Regions from separate parts of the Homo sapiens genome. Here region 1 is linked to region 2. Evidence: promoter capture Hi-C in 16 types of primary human blood cells and fetal thymus (Javierre and others, 2016). All regions are on one chromosome and are shown on one strand. Each heading gives the region's core, a stretch centred on a gene start or on the middle of the fragment in contact. The rest is flanking DNA. Distances are from core to core; before and after follow the strand shown. Region 1 has its middle 130 kb from the start of MIR1252. Region 2 holds the start of PAWR (pro-apoptotic WT1 regulator).

Evidence for each region. The method cuts DNA at HindIII sites, captures the fragments that hold promoters and counts their contacts. A CHiCAGO score of 5 or more calls a contact.
Region 1: a fragment that was not itself captured here is called in contact with the fragment with the promoter of PAWR in region 2 in 4 of 17 cell types (total B cells, megakaryocytes, naive B cells and 1 more); the score reaches 13.7 in total B cells.

Annotation. Positions count from the first base shown.
Region 1 is chr12:79,547,469-79,554,543 of GRCh38, reverse strand. No RefSeq gene overlaps it. Among named protein-coding and RNA genes, the nearest start is that of MIR1252, 130 kb to the right of the region's middle. RefSeq lists enhancers at 6,801-7,075, 6,538-7,075 and a silencer at 6,801-7,075. The HindIII fragment of the contact is 2,255 bases long and covers 2,629-4,883 here.
Region 2 is chr12:79,688,965-79,695,881 of GRCh38, reverse strand. PAWR (pro-apoptotic WT1 regulator) reads left to right here and starts at 4,918. Exons shown (of 7, transcript NM_002583.4): 1 at 4,918-5,010; 2 at 5,491-6,153. The coding sequence starts at 5,638. PPP1R12A-AS2 (PPP1R12A antisense RNA 2) reads right to left here and starts at 5,850. Exons shown (of 7, transcript NR_187531.1): 1 at 5,486-5,850. RefSeq lists silencers at 4,621-4,920, 5,691-6,210. The HindIII fragment of the contact is 6,027 bases long and covers 3,576-6,917 here.

The DNA of each region.
Region 1 (7,075 bases), core at 2,507-5,006, 140 kb after region 2:
CTAGCAGCCCTCCCTTGCTCTCAGCACCTCCTCAGCCTCGGTGTCCGCTCTGGCCACACTTGAGGAGCCCTTCAGCCCATCGCTGCACTGTGGAAGCCCCTCTCTGGGCTGGCTGAGGCCGGAGCCGGCTCCCTCTGCTTGCAGGGAGGTGTGGAGGGAGAGGCCCAGGCAGGAACCGGGGCTGCACGTGGCGCTCACAGGCCAACGTGAGTTCTGGGTGGGTGCAGGCTCAGTGGGCCCCGCACTGGGAGCGGCGGGCAGCACCGCTGGCCCTGAGCAATGAGGGGCTTAGCAACCAGGCCAGCAGCTGCAGAGGGGTCACCGGCTCCCCCAGCACTGCCAGCCTGCCCGTGCCATGCTCAAATTCTTGCTGGGCCTCAGCTGCCTCCCTGTGGGGCAGGGCTCAGGACCTGCAGCCTGCCATGCCCGAGTCCCTGGCCTGAGCCTCCCCAATGGGTGCCACTCCCTGCTCCACAGCGCCCCGTCCCATTGACTGCCCAAGGGCTGAGGAGTGCAGGTGTGTGGCGCGGGACTGGCAGGCATCTCCACCTGTGGCCCTGGTGCAGGATCCACTAGGCGAAGCCAGCTGGGCTCCTGAGTCGGATGGGGACTTGGAGAACTTTTATGTCTAGCTGGAGGATTGTATATGCACCAATCAGCACTCTGTGTCTAGCTCGGGGTTCATGGATGCACCAATCAGCACTCTGTACCTAGCTAATCTGGTGGGGACTTGGAGAACTTTTAGGTCTAGCTTGAGGATTGTAAATGCACCAATCAGCACTTTGTGTCTGGCTCAAGGTTTGTAAATACACCAATCAGCACCCTGTGTCTAGCTCAAGGTTTGTGGATGCACCAATCAGCACTCTGTATCTAGCTAATCTGGTGGGGACTTGGAGAACTTATATGTCGAGCTAGAGTATTGTAAATGCACCAGTCAGCACTCTGTGTCTAGCTCAGGGATTGTAAACGCACCAGTCAGCACCCTGTGTCTAGCTCAAGGTTTGTAAATGCACCAATCAGTGATCTGTGTCTAGCTAATCTAGTGGGAACTTGGAGAACTTTTACATCTAGCTAGAGGATTGTAAATACACCAATCAGCACTCTGTCTGGCTCAGGGATTGTAAACGCACCAATCAGCACCCTGTCAAAACAGACCAATCAGCTCTCTGTAAAATGGACCAATCAGCAGGATGTGGGTGGGGCCAAATAAGGCAATAAAAGCTGGCTGCCCCAGCCAGCAGGGGCAACTCAGTCCGGACCCTTTCCACACTGTGGAAGTTTTGTTCTTTTGCTCTTGGCAATAAATCTTGTTGCTGCTCACTCTTTGGGTCTGCACTGCCGTTATGAGCTCTAACACTCACCGTGAAGGTCTGCAGGAGGCCAGCAAGACGATGAACGCACCGGGAGGAATGAACAACTCCAAACGAGAGGAACGAACAACTCTAGACGGACCGCCTTAAGAGCTGTAACACTCACCGTGAAGGTCTGCAGCTTCACTCCTGAAGCCAGCGAGACCACGAACCCACCAGAAGGAAGAAACTCCAGACATGTCCGAACATCAGAAGGAACAAACTCCGGACACGCCATCTTTAAGAACTGTAACACTTACCACGAGGGTCCGCGGCTTCATTCTTGAAGTCAGCGAGACCAAGAACCCACCAATTAGGAACACAATTGTAACTATAGGATTGTGATGCAAAGAGTACAGAGACTACATTTATTGAGCACCTACTAAAGGGCAGGCCTGGTGCAAGGCTTTTTTACATCTGTAATCACATATAATCCTTAGCACAAAACTGAGATATGTTACTATCTTCCTAATTTCACATTCAAAAAACTGAGATCAGAGGTTAAGTATATCTTATCACATAAGCTTGGAAATGGCAGGGCAGGAATTTGAACTTAGGTGCTTCTGACTCAAATCCATACTCTTACAGTAGACTATCTCTCTGTTGCACATGGTGAGGATCTTTATGTTCATTGTGGAGGGAAAAGGGAGCCCAAGTCTAGAGATTGAGTATAAAGTTTGGGCCAAAAGCAGGAGTAGAGTCTGCTGGAAGACTCGCTAGCAGCCTTAGCATTGGCACCACCTCCTTACTAAAACCACATCTTGCTTCCTGGCAGAGCCTAGTACTGTTATAGTTGGCAGAGCATTACAGGGAGCTTGGAAGAACTTCCCCGGTACCTTCCAATTTTCCCTATTTGGTCAGTTCAGACTTGCGTTAGTGCAATAACCTCCTAACCAATCTCTTGGCCCCTATGCTTGCTTTACCTCCAGTCTGTTCTTCGCGTTGCACTTAGAACAACCTTTCCGAAGAACAGACCAGATCTTGTCATTCCTGTGCTTTAGCTCTTTCAAGGGTTTCCTGTTATAATTAGGATAAAGTAGAAATTCTTTAGCATGGTTGGTTTGCTCCTTCTATCCCTAGCCTTACTTCTCTCCACTGTGAACACCATGTTTCAGCCCAGCAGGACCACTATTCCTCCAAATGTACCATGTGCTCTCTCCCCTCTGCCGTGGGCATATTCTGCTGTTCCTTTAACATTGATCCATTCTTCCTCCTTTTCCTTCTTACTCCTACTTGTCTTCTGTGATCACTGCTTAAAAGTCATTTTTTTCAGAAAGCTTTTCTGAACCTCTTCTCCAACACTACCCCCACACATGTAGACTAGCACGCTCTAATATGGCCATCATCTTATTGTATTATAATTACCTTGTCTTATTGATATAATTTACATAACATAAAAGTCACTCTTTTAAATTGTACAATTCAGTGGTTTTTAATATATTTACAAGGTTATGCAATCACTATATAATTTGAGAACATTTTCATCACTCCTAAAAGAACCCACATACACACCCATTGACAGCCACTCCGTGTTTCCCCTTCCCCCAATCCCCTGACAATTATTAATCTACTTTTTATCTCTATTTATTTCCCTAGTCTGGACATTTTATGTGAATAGAATCATACCATATTTGTCCCTTTGTGTCTGTCTTCTTGCACTAAATATGTTTCTAAGGTTCATCCATGTTGTATTATGTATCAGTACTTCATTTCATTTTATGGTTGAAATATTCCATTGTATGTATGTACCACATTTTGTATATCCATTCGTCAGCTGATGGACATTTGGATTGTTTCCACTTTTTGAGTATTAATAAATAATGCTTCTATTAACATTTGTGTACAAGTTTTTGTATGGCCATGTTTTCAATGGTCTTGAGTATGTACCTAGCAGTGACACTGCTACATTGTATGGTTATTCTGATTCTGTATTGAGCTTTTGGAGGACTTTTCTAGAGTAGCCGCATCATTTTACATTGACACCAACACTGTATGAGGGTTCTGATTGTTTAGTGTCCTCACCAACACTTCTTTCTTTCCTTTTTTTCCTCCTCTCTCTCTCTCTTTTATCATGGCCATGCTAATGGGTATGACGTTACAATTGCCTTTTTACTGGTTTGTTTCCTTCATGACTCTGAACTGTGAAGGCAAGGACTGTGCTAGATCTGGTTTATTATTGTACTCCAGTGCCTAAAACATTGGGTACTCAACAAATATCTACAAAATGGGTGAGAAGACCTACAGCTTTCCTAGTTGCTTTGCTTCTATAAATCCAGGAAATATAGGGGCTAGAATTGGAAAAGATATTCTGGCTGCCAGTCCACAGCACTGTTCACCAGAGTGCCATAGGATTTTAATAACCACACTAAGTAAATGGTTCCATGGCTTTAATAGTTTTACCTAAGAAGTTCCCTGTGTGGAGAATGGCGTGAGTTCTCATTTAACTAGCTCAAAATGGGGAAGAACATACTCAACTCTGCTGGCATTTTAATCTGATTCCGGGGAGTCTTTCTATTCCAAACACCTTTTCTGAGGGCATGCGAACATTTCCTAATGAGAAAGCCATTCCTTCTGAGGGAAAGTGGGGGGAAAAAAGCAAAACAAAAGTTCCTTTACTGGAAACTGATGGCCACATCAATTATACATTCAGAATAATACAGATTGAACTCAAGTTGTCAGGTACTGAAACAACTCTATTTAGCCAAGTTACAAATGGGATCTCATCGACCCTTTCATAGCTATGTGTTTTTATTTGTCCCAGTGTACCAAATCTTGGATTCTAAAAGTGATCTGGAAGAGAAAAGATGCCTTTTCCTTGATTTCCTTGATTTGTCCTGTAAACAAAGTGCCTGTAAAAGAAAAGGCCATGATGCTTTCTTGGTAGCGTCGTTGGCGCTGTGATTAGGTGACAGGTGCCCTCCGTAAAACTCTTGAATTCATCTCCACCTTCAGTCCACGTTCCACCTAGTCGGGTTTTGCTCGGTGAGGAGTAGTCTTCCATAGCATTTTCTTCTATTCACTGTGCACCCTCCTGTACCATACTTCCATCCTTGTTTGTTTTCCTGTACTTTTTCTCTCTTCACCTGCTGTGAAATACAGTGTTGGCCCAACAATAGGAGTCTTCTATGAATTGTAGTCTTTAAACCCTGGGACTAGTTTTCTGCTCTATCTTCCTTCTAGTAAATGCAGATTTGGTGAATTACAATCCCCACTTGACTAATCTCAATAAACTTTTCCTCTATTATATTTTTTCCTTCAGAAACATAGAATGTGTTCATGAACTTTTGAGGGGAGAGAATGGGAAAGATTTGGGAAAGTCTTAGGTAAATAGTACTGACCTTGTGTAAAGAGTGTTAATGTTATTATATAGCAGTGAAAATACGATAGAAAAAATAACATAGTAATCATTGTCCAAATATGGCCCACTTGAACTCTGGATGGTATTTCAGCACTGTAGGAAAATTCCAGAAATCTCTCTGCCTACAAATATTTTCCTCACCTTATCTGCCTCTGCTGATAAATGGAGGATAAGCTTGACATCAGCAAATATTTGAAGAAGTACTGTACTTGAAGAAGTACACCACCAGTGCTGGAGGCAGCAGTATTCCAGTACATGAATTGCCTGTTATGTGCTTTACCTGATTTATTGAATACTTTCTGATTTACATTTTTACCCAGATCTTCAGTCTAACTTCAATAGGTTAGTTTGCATAAATTCTTGAAATACTAATCTCAGAGAAGTCTGATGCTAGTCTGCCCCTATACAGGAGGCAGAGTGTATGCCTAGGAACACTAGTTGAACTCATAGGAAGGGAGATTCTGCCCAAAAAGTTCAAGGAGTTCTAAGATTTCTTTTTTTTTTTTTTTCTTTTTTTTGAGAAGGAGTCTCACTCTGTCTCCCAGGCTGGAGTGCAGTGGCACGATCTCAGCTCACTGCAACCTCCACCTCCCGGGTTCAAGCGATTCTCCTGACTCAGCCTCCTCTCCTGCCTCAGCTGGGATTACAGGCTCCCGCCACCATGCCTGGCTAATTTTTGTATTTTTAGTAGAGACTAGTTTCACCATGTTGGCCAGGCTGCTCTCCAACCCCTGACCTCAGGTGATCCACCCGTCTCGGCCTCCCAAAGCGCTGGGATTACAGGCATGAGCCACTGCACCCAGCCGAGTTTAAGATTTCTAGCAGCCTTCTTTTCTTTTTTCTTTTCTTTTCTCTATCTCTCTTTCTTTTTCTTTCTTTCTTTCCTTCTTTCTTTCTCTTTCTTTCTCTTCCCTTTTTTTTTCAGACAGAGTCTTGCTTTGTCACCCAGGCTAGAGTGCAGTGGTGTGATCACAGCTACTGCAGCCTCAAACTCCTGGGCTCAAAGGATCCTCCCACCCCAGCCTCCTGAGGAGCTGGGACTACAGGTGCACACCTGTATAATAGTACATACCTGACTATTTTTATTTTTTTAGAGATGGGGTCTTGCTATGTTGCCCAGGCAAACCTTGAACTCCCAGCCTCAAGTGATCCTCCTGCCTTAACTTCCCAAAGTGTTGGGATTACAGACATTAGCCACTACCCCTGCTAGCTTTGCTTTCTTTGGTACGCCCCGGCTAGGACCAAATTTACTGGGACCCCGTTTATACACATAGTTTCTCAAGCAGTGAGAAACATGTGCCCCTGCTCCCCATATTTGCATACATGACTAATCTACTAATAGCTTTTGACCATTTGGGCAAACCCTGCATTTAAGCAAACCAAATATTTGTAACTTGAATATGGAAACAAAACAGAAATCCTGTACAAATGGGCTGTGCTGGATTATTTAACTTTTCATTTCTTTGAAGGGCTCCTTTTGCCCTTAGAGATAGCATTTGAGAGAAACTCCAAAATTCAGGCAGAAATTCAGGACAAAAAAGCAAGTTTAACCTCTGGTTTCTGAACTGTGGTGCATATTAGGCAAGACTGTTCCGGATAGACCAGAAACTTTGGCCTGTGCAATTCATGCTGCATGTCGCTATGATGTGCATCTGGATGTATTCACCCTGAGGTTGTTTATTTACAATGAGAATTGAAGGAAAAGTTCAGAAACATCCTGTCACAGGATGTGTGGATAGGCCTGCTGAATGCTGAAGCCAGAGGAAAGCAGGAAAGTTTCAGCAATTAGTGATGGCATCGCCCTCTAGTGGTTTGTCCGTGGCTTAAAAATGAATATACTGCAGGTGTATCCCAGTTCTCCAAAGAATTGTCCCAAATAAACTGTCAGATTGTGTACGGAAAAGAGAAAAGGAGGGGAAAGAGGAAGGGAGCAAGAGGGAAAGAAAGGAGGAGGGAGAGGATTCTTGCCAGGATAGCCCATCTCAGCAGCTAGGAAGCTCTAGGAGCCAGGCTTTCTGTAGAAGCCTTCTGACATCCAATTAGGCCCTCAGTGAAAACATTTTTTTCCCAAGCTTCTGGCAAGTGATTCTAGCTAAAAGTCACTATTCACGATTTGTAATAGGGCCCTGGGTTCCTTTCCAGCCTCCACAGCTTTGTACCAGCTTCCCCTCCCAGGTCCACATTCCATTCCTAGGTAAGTCATCACACGTGCTGAGAGGTAGAACTGTCTGCAGGGCAAAGTGTGTAGGTAGACCAGGCTTCTTTTCTTGCACCCCCACCCTTCTTTGTTTCCTTTATGCCTCATTGTCATCTCCCCAAATACTTTTGCTGCCCTTTATACTTAATTTCCTGTTGGCTCCCCACAGAA
Region 2 (6,917 bases), core at 3,669-6,168:
TGAGGCAGGTGGATCATGAGGTCAGGAGTTCAAGACCAACCTGACCAACATGGTGAAGCCCCGTCTCTACTAAAAATACAAAAATTAACCAGGCGTGTGTGCCTGTAATCCCAGCTACTCAGGAGGCTGAGGCAGGAGAATCGCTTGAACCCGAAAGGTGAAGGTTGCTGTGAGCCTAGATCAGGCCACTGCACTCTGACCTGGGCGACAGAGCGAGACTCCATGTCAAAGAAAAAGAAAGAGGATAAGAAAATTTCCTAACTGGAAGGCAGATAGCTGATTAAAAGGGTCCACTGACTGCATAACATAATAATGATAAAAGACCAAATCAGAGCATATCTTCAAGATATTTCAGAGGATCTAAGTAAGAAGATCCAAAAATTTTGAGACAGAAAATACAATGCAATCAGAATGCCACTGGTCTTCTAAACAGCAACTCTGGAAACTAGATGATAATAAAGCAATGCCTTCAAAATTATGAAGGAAAATGCTTTCTAACCTAGAGTTCTATGCTCCACCAAACTATTAATCAAGTATGAAGATAAATTTAAAACATTTTCCAATATGCAAGGTCTCTAAGAATGAGTTATACTATCTTCAGAATATACTGAGGATATACTCTGCTAAAATGAAGGGGAGAAACAAAAAGAGAAAAGTATGCAATTCAGGAAACAAGAAGTCTACAGAGAAAATGATTCTCAAGGTGTTAGAGGAGCATAATCCCAGGATGACCACAAGCAACGAGCCTTAAAATCAGTCCAGATTAGGCCAGGTGCGGTGGCTCACACCTGTAATCCCAGCACTTTGGGAGGCCAAAGCAGGCTGGTTGCCTGAGCTCAGAAGTTCGAGACCAGTCTGGGCAACATGGTGAAACCCCCGTCTCTACTAAAATACAAAAAATTAGCTGGGCGTGGTGGCATGTGCCTGTATTCCCAGCTACTCTGGAGGCTGATGCAGGAGAATTGCTTGAACCCAGGAGGCGGAGGTTGCAGTGAGCCAAGACTGCGCCACTGCACTACAGCCTCACCAACAGAGCGAGACTCCGTCTCCAAACAAACAAACAAAATCAATCCATATTAAAGCAGGGGATGGAGGGCTCCAGAACAGATGTTTCCAAAAAGAGAATAGAACTGATAGCTTACCCAATGTGATTAACGTCATTGAGAGGAGGAAAATTTGAGTATATACTTGTGACTGGTATATAAAAAAATAAGCCGATGATTAAAGAAAAAAAAAGAGGCAAGTTTTAACTGCAGAAAAATGGTAAAGACAAAAGGTATAGTTGTGCAACAAGGAAAAACAGTTGTAAAAAAAAAGAAATGCAATCATATACACCACATGACTCAGCTATGAACAGTATTTGTATAGTCATAATACTACGGGCGTGTAGGAGTATGAAAAGTATATGTGTGGCCGGGCATGGTGGCTCATGCCTGTAATCCCAGAACTTTGGGAGGCCGAGGCGGGTGGATCACGAGGTCAGGAGATCGAGATCATCCTGGCTAACACAGTGAAACCCCGTCTCTACTAAAAATGCAAAAAAAAAAAAAAAAAAAAAAAAAAATTAGCCGGGCGTGGTGGCAGCCACCTGTAGTCCCAGCTACTCAGGAGGCTGAGGCAGGAGAATGGCGTGAACCCGGGAGGCGGAGCTTGCAGTGAGCCGAGATCGCGCCACTGCACTCCAGCCTGGGAGACAGAGCGAGACTCCATCTCAAAAAAAAAGAAAAAAAAAAGAAAAAGAAAAGAAAAGTATATGTGTTATTAGTGTATTAGAGCTAAATCCTCTTCTATATCTAAAAATGGAAAAATCAAGATGTACAATAGCAGATATGCACATAAAAAATAAATATGAAGATCTCTATTAATGGAAACAGTTAAAAAGTTCAAAGTTTTGGGTAGGGTTTTCAGAATGGATAAGGTAGAGAGGGGATTGCTGTTTTTTGTTATAATCCTTGTAGAACTAAAGTATGTAATTTTTTTATCCTATGCACATATAATATTTTGATGTTAGAGGATGAATTGCATATGTTCCAGAAATACCTGCATTGAAGGCAAAATGGCTACTTCCCAATACACTAGCTATCCATACATATAATAATACACTTCCTCAAAATCATTAAGACTAACATCTAGGTTTCACTCTGACATATTTAAATGAATCTGTTTTTGTCAGCATTATCATCATATTTCATTTTATTATTAAGGGCAAGTGAGTCGCTAAAAATTGGTTATTTTAGGCTAACTCAGAGGTGCTCAACCGGGGAAGAATTTTATCCCAGGGACCATGTGGCAATGTCACAATACAGGTGGGGGTTTCTTATTGGTATCTAATAGGTAGAAGCCAACGATGCTGCTAAACAACCTACAATGGGCAGGACAGCAAAGAATTATCCAGCCCCAAATGTAACAGTGCTGAGGTTGAGAAACCAAGCTCCAAGTCTTTGAGGATTATTTCATCAGAACGCTATACATAAAGATTGATGATATGCAAACATCTTGCAATTTAGGACTGACTCAGCTAAATACCTCGGTGCAATGTTGGAAGCAGTCTGGCTGTGAAATATATCTTCGGGAATATTGAGAATGGTAAAGACAAAAGGTATAATAAATGATAATAATAACAAAACACAGAGCTTTGTACCTCAATAATCTCTTTCATCCATGGTTCCTAGGGCACTTTATAGACTAATAATACCTACTCTGGTACTCACATACCACCTTTTATCTAAGGACTGCAGGCACTTTCACAACACTCTCACGATGCAGGAAGTATTATTATCCCCATTTTATATGTAAGTAAACAGAGGCACAAAAGTTAAGCAACTTGCCCAAAGCCACACAAGTCAGTAGCAGCCAAAATTCCTGACTCAGAACCTATTAACACTAAGAGAACTGGTCTAAGCCATGCAGTGATAAATTTATGTGGGGTGTTATCCTAGTTCATTCAAAGTCTATCGTTTTTAGGCTGATATTGTATATTCAATACCCCATCTGTTATAATTTCCTCTTCTCCCATACACTTCTTAGAGACCAAGGACTTTAAGCCCCTAGAAGGGACTATGTTTACTGAGTGCCTTCCTCGAATCAAGCACATTTTATGTGCAGTGTCAGTTCTTAAGACAGCTTAAATATAATGTAATTGGGAGGCTGAGAGCAGGAGAATTGCTTGAACTCAGGAGGCGGAGGTTGCAGTGAGCTGAGATCCCGCCACTGCACTCCAGCCTGGCGACAGAGCGAGACTCCGCCTCAAAAAAAAAAAAAATGTAATTTTTGCTGATTTTATAGTACAGAAAGCTGAGTACCAGATAATGTAAACATGCCCAAGATCTCTCAGCTAGCTGACTATACCCTCTTTCCACTATATCCTGCAGCCCTTCCAGGAGAAAAGTCCTCTGATAAGTTACAAAGCATATGAATGTGAATACGTTTAATGTCCCAGCCTCCCTTACTCTCCTTAAAACTCAGAAAACAAACTAATGAATATGTAATTGAGAAACTTCAGGTGGCACACTGGGGTTGGTACTAGCTTAGGTAAACAGCCGCTCAGCCTTTTAGACCTATTCCCAACAAAAGCTTTTAATTTTCTAAGGATTTTTCCAGAGCTCTCGCCATACGTTTCCCACAACAGCCAGACCAAAGACCAAAACTGTCTTTCCCTGAGAAATATAGAGCATGTGAATCACTTTCTTCTGTTCCCAGTTCTGTGGCAGGCAAACACTGATTGCTCACTCATCATGTGCTACCTGGGCAAAACAGGAATATTAAGTAGGAAGAAAGGTTTATGTTAGGTAAGAGCGTGACTTAGGGCTCTCCTACTTTTTTACAAAATGGAGACCTGGCATTTGTAGCCTCCCACAATGATGTGCCCTGACATTACTTGGATATAGAAAGGTCAGTCTTAGGTGCGTCAGTGACAGCCCACCCCGCTCTGATCCAGAAATTTCAGATGACTTGCATCAGAGGATAAGCCTCTGGCATGTTAATAATGAAAAAATAGAGACAATCACTGCCCCAGCTCATCTCAAATTAGCATCAGTGCAGCGTTAGTACTTTGGTAGGGAGCTTTGCTGCTAAATTCATTCTCTGTAAAGAGGAGAGGCAGAGACAGGGTTAAGGGGAAAACTCCAAGACTGGAATCGCCAATACAATAAACTGTCGAACTGAGTTTTTTCTCCCGCAACCCTAAGATACTAGTAAGTCCTTCCTCTTAGCCAACCCTTTTCACCAGGGCACCGCAGTTTTCTTAGAAGGAGGGTGCTGGGTTTGTCTCAGGTCTTTCTATTCTCCTGCCCGCTGCCCTAGTACATCTGAAAAGGGAGCAGCGACTAGGAAAAGAGACACGTGGGTATTTTCCCATCCTGTCTAGTCATTCCCTGAATCATCACAAGTTATCGCACTTTTCCCCTTAGCCAGCAGCGTTCGAGACTTTCTCTCAAATAATACGGTCTTGTACTTAAAAGGAAGAGTGGTGGGAGAAGAGAGAGGCGGAGAAGACAAGCAAGAAGGGCGTGGAGTGCCGTTCCCGCCCCGGAGTCGGAGGCGCCGGGAGGCCGGACGCCGCGAAGCTGCTAGCCCAGGAATGTGCCGTCTAACTCGCAGGCCGCGGGCGGAGCGCGGCGGGCGCGCTGTGGTCTGCGGCGGGAGCGGGGCAGAGGACGGCTGGCGCAGGGCAGGCTGCAGCGGCGGGCCGGACGCGACGCCGCGCACCTGAGCGCCGGGGGCGGGGCGTCAGCGGCCACGACCCTTCCCACCGCGCGCCGCGCCCCTCGCGCGCCGCCTCGGCCTTTTCCGCTCGTGCTTCGGCGCCGCTCGGCTCCCTTCCCGCCCCTGGCTCCCTCCCTCCCTCCCTCCCTCCTTCTTCTCCCTCCCTCCTGTCCTGGGATTGCCTGGAGCTCCGCACCGCGAGTTTGCCGCGGCACTTTCCGCGCGGCGGAAGAGCGCGCGCCAGCTTCGGCACACCTGGGAGCCGGATCCCAGCCCTACGCCTCGTCCCCTACAAGCTCCTCCAAGGTAAGGCGCTCGCTCACACCCGGTCCTTTCCACGCTCGGCGGGACAGCTGGGTCCCCGCCTCCTCTGCGAACCGGCTAGGAGCTCCGCGCCTCGCCTTGGGAGTGGGGTTGTAGCTGACGGGGACCTCGGACCGGCGGTGGCTAGAGCGCGGAGCAGGCGATACGACGAGCCGACAGGTGGCGGGTCTAGCCCTAGTATCTCGACCGCCGCCGGCGCGGACCTTGGTGGGGATGGGGCGGGCGGGCCGACTTGGGGGTGGGGTCAGTCCTCTCTCCTCCCTTCTAGGGGCGGCGATCGTCGGGGTCCGTACTGTAGGTGCGTGGGAGAAACTTTGCAGGGTGGGGACCCGGCGGCTGCTGGCCGGTAGTGACTGGTGGGCGCGCTCGAGGACTCCAAGGGGCGCAGCCCGGGGGCAGACCCTTGGGTCGGGCGGGGATCTTACGCTTCCCTTACCCGCCCCCTTTTGTCTTTCACCTCAGCCCCGCCGGCTGCTGTGGGAGCGGCGGCCGTCCCTCTCCTGGAGGTCGTCTCCTGGCATCCTCGGGGCCGCAGGAAGGAAGAGGAGGCAGCGGCCGGAGCCCTGGTGGGCGGCCTGAGGTGAGAGCCCGACCGGCCCCTTTGGGAATATGGCGACCGGTGGCTACCGGACCAGCAGCGGCCTCGGCGGCAGCACCACAGACTTCCTGGAGGAGTGGAAGGCGAAACGCGAGAAGATGCGCGCCAAGCAGAACCCCCCGGGCCCGGCCCCCCCGGGAGGGGGCAGCAGCGACGCCGCTGGGAAGCCCCCCGCGGGGGCTCTGGGCACCCCGGCGGCCGCCGCTGCCAACGAGCTCAACAACAACCTCCCGGGCGGCGCGCCGGCCGCACCTGCCGTCCCCGGTCCCGGGGGCGTGAACTGCGCGGTCGGCTCCGCCATGCTGACGCGGGCGGCCCCCGGCCCGCGGCGGTCGGAGGACGAGCCCCCAGCCGCCTCTGCCTCGGCTGCACCGCCGCCCCAGCGTGACGAGGAGGAGCCGGACGGCGTCCCAGAGAAGGGCAAGAGCTCGGGCCCCAGTGCCAGGAAAGGCAAGGGGCAGATCGAGAAGAGGAAGCTGCGGGAGAAGCGGCGCTCCACCGGCGTGGTCAACATCCCTGCCGCAGAGGTGAGCCGGGCGGGGGCCGCAGCCGGACCGGGCCGGGGCGGGCAGCTGCCTCCCGGTGTCTTCCTCCTGGGAGCTACCCGGGGCGCAGAGTTTACCTCCCCTGGCTCGTACTTGTCCCTTCACCGAGTTAGGCAGGCAGGGGGTGATGGAGTTTTACTCTGAACAAATGCTTCCTGGGAAGTTCCCCAAACTCAGAGTAGGACACGTGCTTTTCAGGCTTCCTGGCCAGGTCTCAGATCCAGGATCCTTTTTTACCGTGGTAGAAAGACAACTTATGGCTCCAGGACTTGCCCACCTGGACTTGGCTGACTTGGCCACCTGGACTTGGCTGTTTATGCTTGATCAGTTAGAAAAATTGATTAATGGTGACGACATTCTCTAGGGTCTCACGTGCCCATGTGAAGTTACCAGTTTATTTCTCCTTTCTTACCAATGTTTAATAACATCTGTAAAGAAAATGTTGCCTTAGCAATATCCAAGACAGCTTTATCTTACAGTGAGCTCAAGATGAGTATATCCAAATGAATACGTGCACTATTTTATATATAAATCAGCTGTTTATAAGTTGTGCTCCTAAACACACAGTGTTTTTCTGAGTGATACTTAGGACAATAGGGATGATTTAGTAACCCACAATTCTGTTCGCTAAGACGATCTCTTTTTGAGTACTGTGTCTGAAAAACATGTGGTAGGGTTTTTGTTTGTTTTGGGTTGTTTGCAGTTTGGAGCATTTTCGAAACGTTACAGGTAGCAGCATCTTCCAT